Linked DNA regions of Homo sapiens: region 1 is linked to region 2. Evidence: promoter capture Hi-C in 16 types of primary human blood cells and fetal thymus (Javierre and others, 2016). All regions are on one chromosome and are shown on one strand. The core of a region is centred on a gene start or on the middle of the fragment in contact, and the rest is flanking DNA. Distances in the headings are between cores, read along the strand shown. Region 1 overlaps MX2 (MX dynamin like GTPase 2). Region 2 holds the start of MX2 (MX dynamin like GTPase 2).

Region 1 (4,481 bases), core at 1,730-4,229, 46 kb before region 2:
TTCCTGGTATGTTCCTGTGGTGGTTCTTGGAGAAAAAGCTCACAATGTGAGTCTCCACATGCTGTTCTATCCATCCAAGTGGAAACTGCACATTAGTCCTGCTTCTTACCCACCATTTTCCCTCTGAAAAAAAAAAAATAGCCAGCTTCTTCCTTTTAGGTTGACATTCTTACTTTTGGAAATCAGTGCTAATGAAACCCAAGTGTTCCTTATGGAAATGTAGTTTGAAGAGTGAGGCTCCCTTGGACCTCCCAGCCTTGTCTAGCTTCTGTGTGACTGTGACGCATGGGTGAGCCCAGGTGAGACACACAGAGGAACAACACAGACTTCCCACAGAATCCAGAGAAAGAATACATCTGCTGTTTTAAGCCATTAAGTTTTGGGGTGATTGTTACACAACAATAGATAACTGGAACATATTCCCAAATTCCACGTTTGGAGGATTGCAAGCAATCGATCAATGTCAGCCTTTCCATGATCATCTGGTTTGCTTCAGGCCAGATCTGCTGCCTTTTGAATTAGAGATACCTTTTTCCAAGTTTTTGGTCATTGCTCGAGTTTTGTGTTCAGAATGCACATGTCTATTTTCTTACTTGCTGTAATGGAACAAATTATGCCCCCACCCTCAAATTCATATGCTGATGCCTTAACTCCCAATGTGACTGCATTTGGAGGTAGGGTCTTTAAAGAGGTGATCAAGCTTAAATGAAGCCCTAAGGGTGGGGACCTGATTCAAGAGGACTGGGATCCTTGTAAGAGAAAAGAGAGAGGCCAAGCATAGGCCTGGTGAGAAGGTGGCAGTCTGCAAGCCAAGGAGAGAAACCTCAGGAGAAACCAAACTAGCAACACTTTGATCTCAGACACTTCCAGCCTCTGGAGGTGGGAGGAAATAAATTTCTGTAGCTTAAGCCACCCAGCATGTGATATTTGTTATGGCAGCTATAGCAGACTAATACACTAGCATTTGAACACAAATCAAAGAGACCTCTGCAAGAGAGCTCTTGGGGATGCTGGTCAAGCTGTGATTTTTGACTTGAACTTTCTTTTCCAACATCTTTTACAGCAAATGAAGAAAGAAATTCACGTAATCTTTCTCGTCTGTACCCCTGAACAAAGCTGAATGTTTTTGAGGCACTCTTTCCATCTCAAACTTGGGTTTTAAAACAAATCAGCAATGATATTTATTCTATTGCCTTTTTATTAAGGAATCTATATGTTCATCATTTGAAACATACAGGAAAACATGAAGAAGAAAAGAAAATTACCCATAATGATGATCACTGGTGTGAAGTTCTCTCTCTCTCTCTCTGTGTATGTGTGTGTGTGTGTGTGTGTGTATTCAGAGACAGAGTCTCACTCTCACTCTGTCACCCAGGCTGTAGTACATGGTGCAGTCATGGCTCACTGCAGCCTCAAAATCCTGGGCTCAAGGGATCCTCCTGCTCCAGCCACCTGAGTGGCTGGGACTACAGGTGTGCACCACCATGTCTGGCTACTTACAAACAAATTTTTTTAGAGACAGGGTCTCCCTGTGTTGCCCAGTCTGGTCTTGAACTCCTGGGCTCAAGTGATCCTTCTGCTTCAGTCTCCAGAGTCACTGGGATTACAGGTATGAGTCACTGAACCTGGCTACGTTTTTAAAAAGTTTCTTTGCTTTATTAAATTCCTCTTCAAGACTTAACAGAACAATGGAAGCTCATCATAATCAGGGAAACAAGAAGAAAAGAGAATCACTCAGGCTCCTTTCTGGCGGGGGAGTGGAGAGGCTGGGAAACACAATGACAGTGAACCATGGGAAGCAGGGGGCATGGCCACTGGATCTGAAAGGGACCGGCTAACAGTCACTAAATGTCCAAGGCCTGGGCTTGAGCAATAGCCTCAGGTATCTCCATCACTTACACAGCACTCATTCGTTCAGTGAGATGTCATTTATTAAGCAGTTACAATGCTGCAGGTGCTGTGCAGGAGACTGGACATACAAAAGAAGAATTTGACCCAGACCTTCCCCCTCTGGGGTCTCATAATCTTGTAGGGGGAAGGGAATACAAATACAAATTAGCGAAGAATGATAGCAGTATCTTAGGACACTGTAACTGTGTGCTACGGGACCCAAGGACTGGAGAGCCATCCCTTCGTGAAGGTCAGGGAAGAGCTGGGTGGTGGAGAGAGCTGAGCCTGTGTGGACCCCTGATGCATGCTCTGATGCTGAGGGAGTACAGTAGAGATGGACACTGATAGTGACAGAAGAGTTTGGCCCCAAAGCAGAAGCGGCATCCTGCACCGACTCCCCTTAGAATGAATGAGTACGCACAAGAAAACAACCACAGGCATCGCCGCCCTTCAGTGGATCTCTTTGCTGGAGAATTGACAGAGTGCGTGTCGCGCCTGAGTGAGCCGGTAAATTCTCTCCTTAAGGATTCTTCTCTTGGTAGCGGTCTCACTCTGCTCTTGAAGCAGCCAGGAATAGCGATTTTTTTCCTGTAGTATCTGCATCATGGCTTTCTGCAAGGAGTCACCATTCTCTCGGAGCATAAAATACTGAATTATAAATGGGATCTGGTTGGCGAGACGTTTGCTGGTTTCCTGGAAGAGGGAGAAAGAAGGGTTTGCTGGAGTGGTCTCAGCCCAAGGCCTGTGGTTGCAGAGAGAAGGCATGGAGTTCCTGGATGCGCACATGGTTGCCTGGCGAAGCCCTGGTGGTCTCGCCCACCTCCACTCCGGTGGTCAGCATCAAGCCCCGTGAAGGTTCTATTTGCGCTGACCCCTCTTTACTTCCAGGCATCCCCTCTAGCACTAAGAAGCCCCCTGGTAGGCTAGCAAGCCCATATCACCTCTGGGCATCCCCACAGCTCCTCCCTGCTGGAGAAACTCCCCCAGCCCAGGACTCCCCTGGCTCCCTTCTGGGTATGCACCAGGGCCGTTTCGAATCCTCCCCTCATTCCTTCTTCATAGGCATAGCCAGTATGCCTGGCAGCCAGGTGCCCATGGCTGGGAAACCACTCTATTCTGATTGAGAAAGGGCTTCGGGAGGTGGGTGTCTTTGCAGTTTAAAAGCTATTTTTTCTTCCTGGGAACAGTGATACTTGCATATTGGATAGACAGTCAGAGGCCAAAAAGTTCACTGGGTCACAAAATCTAGGGAAAGGAAATTTCATTCCTATCTTGTGGGGCTGGCAAGTGTGGCATGTTAGTGCCTTCTGAACACCAAGGAAAGCTAGTTTATAGTCACAATCGTTGACGTTTGTTGTATTTTGCTGTATTCTGATCATAGTAATTTTGTAATTCATGGACCGCATAAGAAATATAAGGAATTTTGGGGTCAGAATTAATTTTGAGTACACGCTCTACCACTTTAAAAATTGATTGTGGGCAAATTAATTAAAAGTGCCTTCATAGGGTTCATGTAAAATTATAAATGAGAAAATATATAAGTAGTTTATCATAATACAGAAGGGCTTAATACATTGTAGTGGTCCCTCCCTCCTTCCCTCAGCAAAGCCTCTCTAGGTTAGCATAGCCCCTACTCAGCTCTGCAAATTTCAGAGAGCACGGCTCCTGCCCCGCCGGGAACTCACCAAGAAGTAGGCATTCAGGTGGATGCCTATTTCAGTAAAGGAGGAAACCGAAGACTCATTACTGGGAAAATGAGAGTTCAACTTCATATTCTGTGAAGGCGTCCCCAGAGGGTTAAAAATCTCTTCTCGGACTTTCTTCAGAACAACACTGTAAATCTGATCTTGACAAAAAACCATCTGCTCCATTCTGAACTGAAGTTGGATCATGTTTTCTGCCTTTGCTGTGTGTTTCACTTTTATGTCTTCAATCGTGCTCTGGTTAGATAAAAAAGACAAACACATTACTTCTTTTTCTTCTTTCCTGTTGGCTTAAACAAATTTGGAAGTACTATTATGTTGAACTCAGAAATAAAACGAATCCATAGTCAAAGAAGTCCTGAGACTTGAAATGATGATTTTTAGAAAGTCCCACTTCGCCCTTTCTGTCCTTATGAACCCGGTTTCCTCACTCCCCACTTGCGACATACCTTCTCTCCTGCCCTTTCTTCCTCTCTGGCCATCCCCAGTCCCTCCTACACCACCAGCTTTCTGCTCCTTCAACAGGAACAGGCTTAGTCCATGCTGTTGGGACGGTGTCAGTCATTCCTGGGGTGCTACTTCTGCTAGAATGGTTCCAGTGCTGACGAACACTGGGATAATAGTGTGATATACCTGTTTCCCAGGAATCCCAGGACTCCTACATCACCCATGCAGTCAAGGAAGAAAGAGGTTGGCTGGGCATGGTGGCTCATGCCTATAATCCCAGCACTTTGGGAGGCCAAGGAGGGTGGATCACTTGAGGTCAGGAGCTCGAGACCAACCTGGCCAACATCGTGAAACCTCATCTCTACTAAAAATACAAAATTAGCTGGGCGTGGTGGCACACGCCTGCAATCCCAGCTACTTGGGAGGCTGAGGCAGGAGAAT
Region 2 (4,555 bases), core at 1,079-3,578:
GAGGGCTGGAAAAAAACTCCAAAAGTGCAAAGGGGAGGGAGTTTCCCTACATATGCTTAAAGCCATAACTTGGCAATTCCAGAGACCTTTGCAAAGAGAAATCCCTCTTTCCAGGCGCATCACTGGAGAGGAAGGCCCTGCGGGGTGAAGGCCCAGGAAGCTGGTGGTTACCCAGCTTAGGCAGCACTGAGGTGAGGGAGTCCAGGCAGAGGTGGTCAGAAGTCATGGTGAATTCATGACTGACACTCCCTGATGCCCCCGACGAAGGCAGAAGCCTCTGGCTCCAGAATGCTTTTGGGTCTATCATCCCCCCAAATTCTCAAGAGAGCCTGTCCTGCAGATGAGGAAACTGGGCCATGGGGAGATGCTGGAGGCCTTGTGGGGGCCCCAGCCCAGGGCTGGGAATCGGGTCTCCACTGCTGTCTCTGACCTGCACCTGACACTGCATCCCAGGGTGTTGAGATTGGAGGACAAGCACACACATTCCCTGCTGAGTTTGGAAGTTTGACTGAGACTGCCAGGATCACGTAAGCACCCCTGGGAAGGATGGAAATGGCTGTGCCGGACATGGTGGTTCCCGCTGAAGTCTAAGGCAAGCTGCGTCTCCCACACGGGCATAGCCACTATTGCTGGCTTGCAACCAGTCCGAGAGCTCTGCCGGGTCCTGGGCACCAGGGGCCACTCTGCTGTGTCCCTTTGCTCCAGTCCCAATGTCACTCGCATGGTGCAGGGTCATGGCTGACCAAGCACTGGCACTGAATGCGACCTTATCTCCCCGGGCTCACCTCCTTTCTTTTTAAGACCGCTTGTTTTTCACCCACTCAAAGATATATATTGAGCACTAAGTCCTTGAGATACATATCGAGTCAGGCAGACAAAGATCTCTGGGGGAGCTTGCATTCTAGGGCAGGGGCTAAACCTAAATAAAGCTCACATACATCCTGGCCAGACGCAGGGACTCACACCTGTAATCCCAATGCATTGGGAGGCCGAGGCAGGAGGATCACTTGAGCCCGGAAGTTTAAGGCTGCAGTGAGCTATGATGGTACCATTGCACTCCAGCCTGGGAAACAGAGCAGGAAGACCCTGTCTCAAAAAAGAAAAAGAAAAAAAAATTGTACATCCGAAGGGAGTCAAAAGTGCTTCAGGGGTTGGCGCGGGGCTGGGAAGTAGAGCAGAGTAAACGGAGGAGAGGGTGCGAGGAAAGATAGCTTGGAATCCTGATCTTTTTAAACAGCTAGAGACAACATTCTAAACACAAAATGAGAAAGAACAGTGTTCAAAAGGTGTCATCAAAGCCGAATGGGGTGGCTTACGCCTGTAATCCCAGTGCTTTGGGAGGTTGAGGCGTAAGGACTTCTTGAGCCAGTGAGTTTGAGACCAGCCTGGGCAACATAGAGAGCCCCTGTCTCTACAAAAAGAAATAAAATTAACCAGGTGTGGTGGTGCACACCTGTAGTCCCAGCTACTTGGGAGGCTGAGGTGGGAGGATCCCTTGAGCCCGGGAGCTTGAGACTGCAGTGAGCCATGATCACGCCACTGCACTCCAGCCTGGGGAACAGAACGAGAACTTCTCTCAAAAAAAAAAAAAAAAAAAAAAAAAAGAAAAAAAAACTGCGTCATCAATACCACCATGTCTCCTTTCCGCTCTATATCAATTATAAAATGGACTTCAGCCCCCAGAGTGCAGGCGATCCAGGGTGCAGTGGTCCAGAGTGCTGGAGTTGGCCCCTACTGGCTGGGAACTGGCCACGGTGGGAGCATTCACACCATGAGAACGGAAGAGAATCGGCAAAGGCTAGAAATCAGGCACCACCCTCTGCCCTGCCCCGCCCCATGAGAGCCAATTTCCCAGCATATCACCGTCACTAAGGTTACGTCAGAGCATCACAAATACCACAAAAGAAGGAACACTTGAAACCCTCCGAGACGACTTTTCGGGCACAAAGCTCCTTACTCAACCCCCAGACTTTGTAGGACGCTGAGCAAAGCTGTCCTAAAAACCACCCCTTTGCGTCCACCCGACTTTTGGCCAGATCAGGATGGAGGCCACCCTGTCCCCAGGGCCAGCCACTTCCCCTCCAGAGCCTCTTTGTCTGTGCACAAGGCTACTGTGGGCTGGTGGCAACATGGGCCCTTTCTGCTCCTCACACCAGAATCTTATCTTTGTGGCTCCTGCCTCCCAGCACAAGCCACATTCACCAAGCAGATGTCACGTTACTCAGGAAATATTTTTTAAACACGCATCTGCTGTGCATCAGACACAAAGCAGCCCTCCCTGCACCGGCCCCGCTCTTACCGCTGCACGTTCAGGATGGAGAAATCATCTCTTCCCTTTCCTCCACTTCACTTTTATGTGGCATATGAACCACTCCCTCCCCTGCTCCGTCATCAACAAACAGGGAGAGAAATGAAACTACTTGATCTGGCCACAGAAATGAAACTGAGTTATCAGCGTGCTCTCCAGATGACTCACAGAGTGGTCCCCAAACTCCAGCTGCATCCGAATCCTGGGAGAGCTGTGGAGACGGGGCGGCTGTCCCCCCACCCCCGCCAGAGAGTCTGATCTGTCAGGTCTGGGCTGGGCCTGAGAATCAGCATTGCTAACAGATTCCAGGGGAGGCTGGCATGGGGGCAGCTCAGAGTGGCTCAGTCACTGGAAGGTTCTGCCCTGACAGTGCCATCCAGTACCACCTGTGTGGCTCTGAAATGTGACTACTGCGACCAAGGAACTGGACTTCGAACTCCATGTAATTTGAATGAATAGCCACGTGTGGTTCGTGTATCGGGCCTCACAGATGCACTCCTGTTACAGCCGAGGACATGCTCTCAGGTACATGATCTGGACGCTCTGAGCTGTCCTGCTTAGCTTCATGCCTGAGCCGCACCTGACAAATGTCACCTCTCCCCTCATTAGGTGCGGAAAACCCAAAGAAGGAGGGTCAACAGCTTTCTCCAAGCACCCGTGCCTGAGGTCCCCGCCGCAAAACCAAGACGGTTTTCTTCCCATTGGAGATAAGGAGGCCCCAGGACAAACCCCAGGCTCCGGAACTCAGCCCTGAGCCAGCTGCATGTCATCTTTCTGGTCCTCAGTTACTTTTCACCTGCAAAAGTGAAGGTGCACAACCGCATGCTCCCTAAGGCTTCCTGCTCTGTGACCAAAGTCAAGGAGGGCCAGGCATTCCCATCACCAGAGCCAAGAGGTCTGGGAACCTCCAGGAGGAGCCCTCCAGACACCGGGGAGGGGACCAAGCCTCTCAAGGACTGGCAGTGATGGCTGGGAGGGAGGAAGCAGGCTCTCAGCTCTCCTATCCACCCGTGATCCTCTCCCAGACATCAACACTATACGTTTAAAAAAACTCCTGAGCTCCTCTTGGCTAAGTCATTGTAGTGACTTCCCTTGAGTGCAGGCTTAACTTTACGGAAGATATTTAGAAACTTAACATGTTTTTCAAAACCTTGGCATTAGAAATATTAACACCAGGAGATCATCGTCAGGATCACCTATCCCTGAACCACTTCTCTTCCCAAGAGCCCGGGCGGACAGAGGCTGAGGAGTGAGGGGAGGAATGTGAATCTCAGACTTGGCAGCGTGATGTGACATTCGGTTTCACTAGGAATGTCTTTCACAACAGGGCCTGGGCCGGCCTACTGCTTCAAGGAAGGCACAAAGAAAGGCCTCAGAGAAGCCGGACAGAGGGACACGAGCAGCTCGGGCCAGCTCAGGGGACCCTCCACCCTCTGTCAAGGCAGCATCCCCCTCCTGCACGCCCCTCACCAGCAGCCCTGGGAAGGACCAGAGGTGCCTGCGCATGCAAACTTCAAGGACAGGGTTCTTGCGTTCTGAGCACTAAAGCCCTGAGGGTGAATGAATGTCCCACGCAGCATCCAAGCACAGGGGCCGGGGCCAGAAAAGATGCTGCTGCTCAGGCCTCGGTCACAGCCGCTGGGCGGAGCTCTTCCCTCAGCTCCACATCAGGGAGCGTTACAGTGTGCAGCTTGGTAAAGAGGCGAAGTCCAGAAGCCCCAGTGCCCGCCTCCTGCCCTGGCACGCTGACTCTATGGAAAGCGCCAGCGCCTCTGTGTGCTGATGAAGTTCCTGGCCACCTGGAAGCACCTGCAGCACCTGGAGCCATCCAGAGCCAGCATGCATCCACTCTCCCATGGCCTCTCCAATCACAGAAGGAAAGATCAAGCAAATGCTTTCCTGAATTAACAGGACAAAGGCAATGGTGAAGTGCTGTAGACAAGCAGGGTTCTTACCTGGGGTGTGTCCCTCCCAGCAGAGCACAGGAGCAGCGGGTGCACCTTGGAGTGGAACTCCACCCTGTCATTGTCCGTGTGACCTGGCTCTTTGTTTCTTTTTTGTTTGCTTGAGATGGAGTCTCGCTCTGTTGCCCAGGCTGGAGTACAGTGGTGAGATTTCTGCTTACTGCAACCTCGGCCTCCCAGGTTCAAGCAATCCTCCCACCTTAGCCTCCCAAGTAGCTGGGATTATAGGCATGTGCCACCATGCCCAGCTAATTTGTTTTGTATTTTTAGTAGGGATGGGGTT

Evidence for each region. The method cuts DNA at HindIII sites, captures the fragments that hold promoters and counts their contacts. A CHiCAGO score of 5 or more calls a contact.
Region 1: a fragment that was not itself captured here is called in contact with the fragment with the promoter of MX2 in region 2 in 4 of 17 cell types (neutrophils, naive CD8 T cells, activated CD4 T cells and 1 more); the score reaches 7.0 in neutrophils.

Annotation. Positions count from the first base shown.
Region 1 is chr21:41,406,093-41,410,573 of GRCh38, reverse strand. It overlaps MX2 (MX dynamin like GTPase 2), which reads right to left. Exons shown (of 14, transcript NM_002463.2): 13 at 3,576-3,830; 14 at 1,181-2,583. The coding sequence ends at 2,341. Among named protein-coding and RNA genes, the nearest start is that of MX1, 18 kb to the left of the region's middle. The HindIII fragment of the contact is 4,554 bases long and covers 703-4,481 here.
Region 2 is chr21:41,359,800-41,364,354 of GRCh38, reverse strand. MX2 (MX dynamin like GTPase 2) reads right to left here and starts at 2,328. Exons shown (of 14, transcript NM_002463.2): 1 at 2,300-2,328. RefSeq lists enhancers at 1,784-2,623, 2,644-2,903, 4,186-4,555. The HindIII fragment of the contact is 29,601 bases long and covers 1-4,555 here.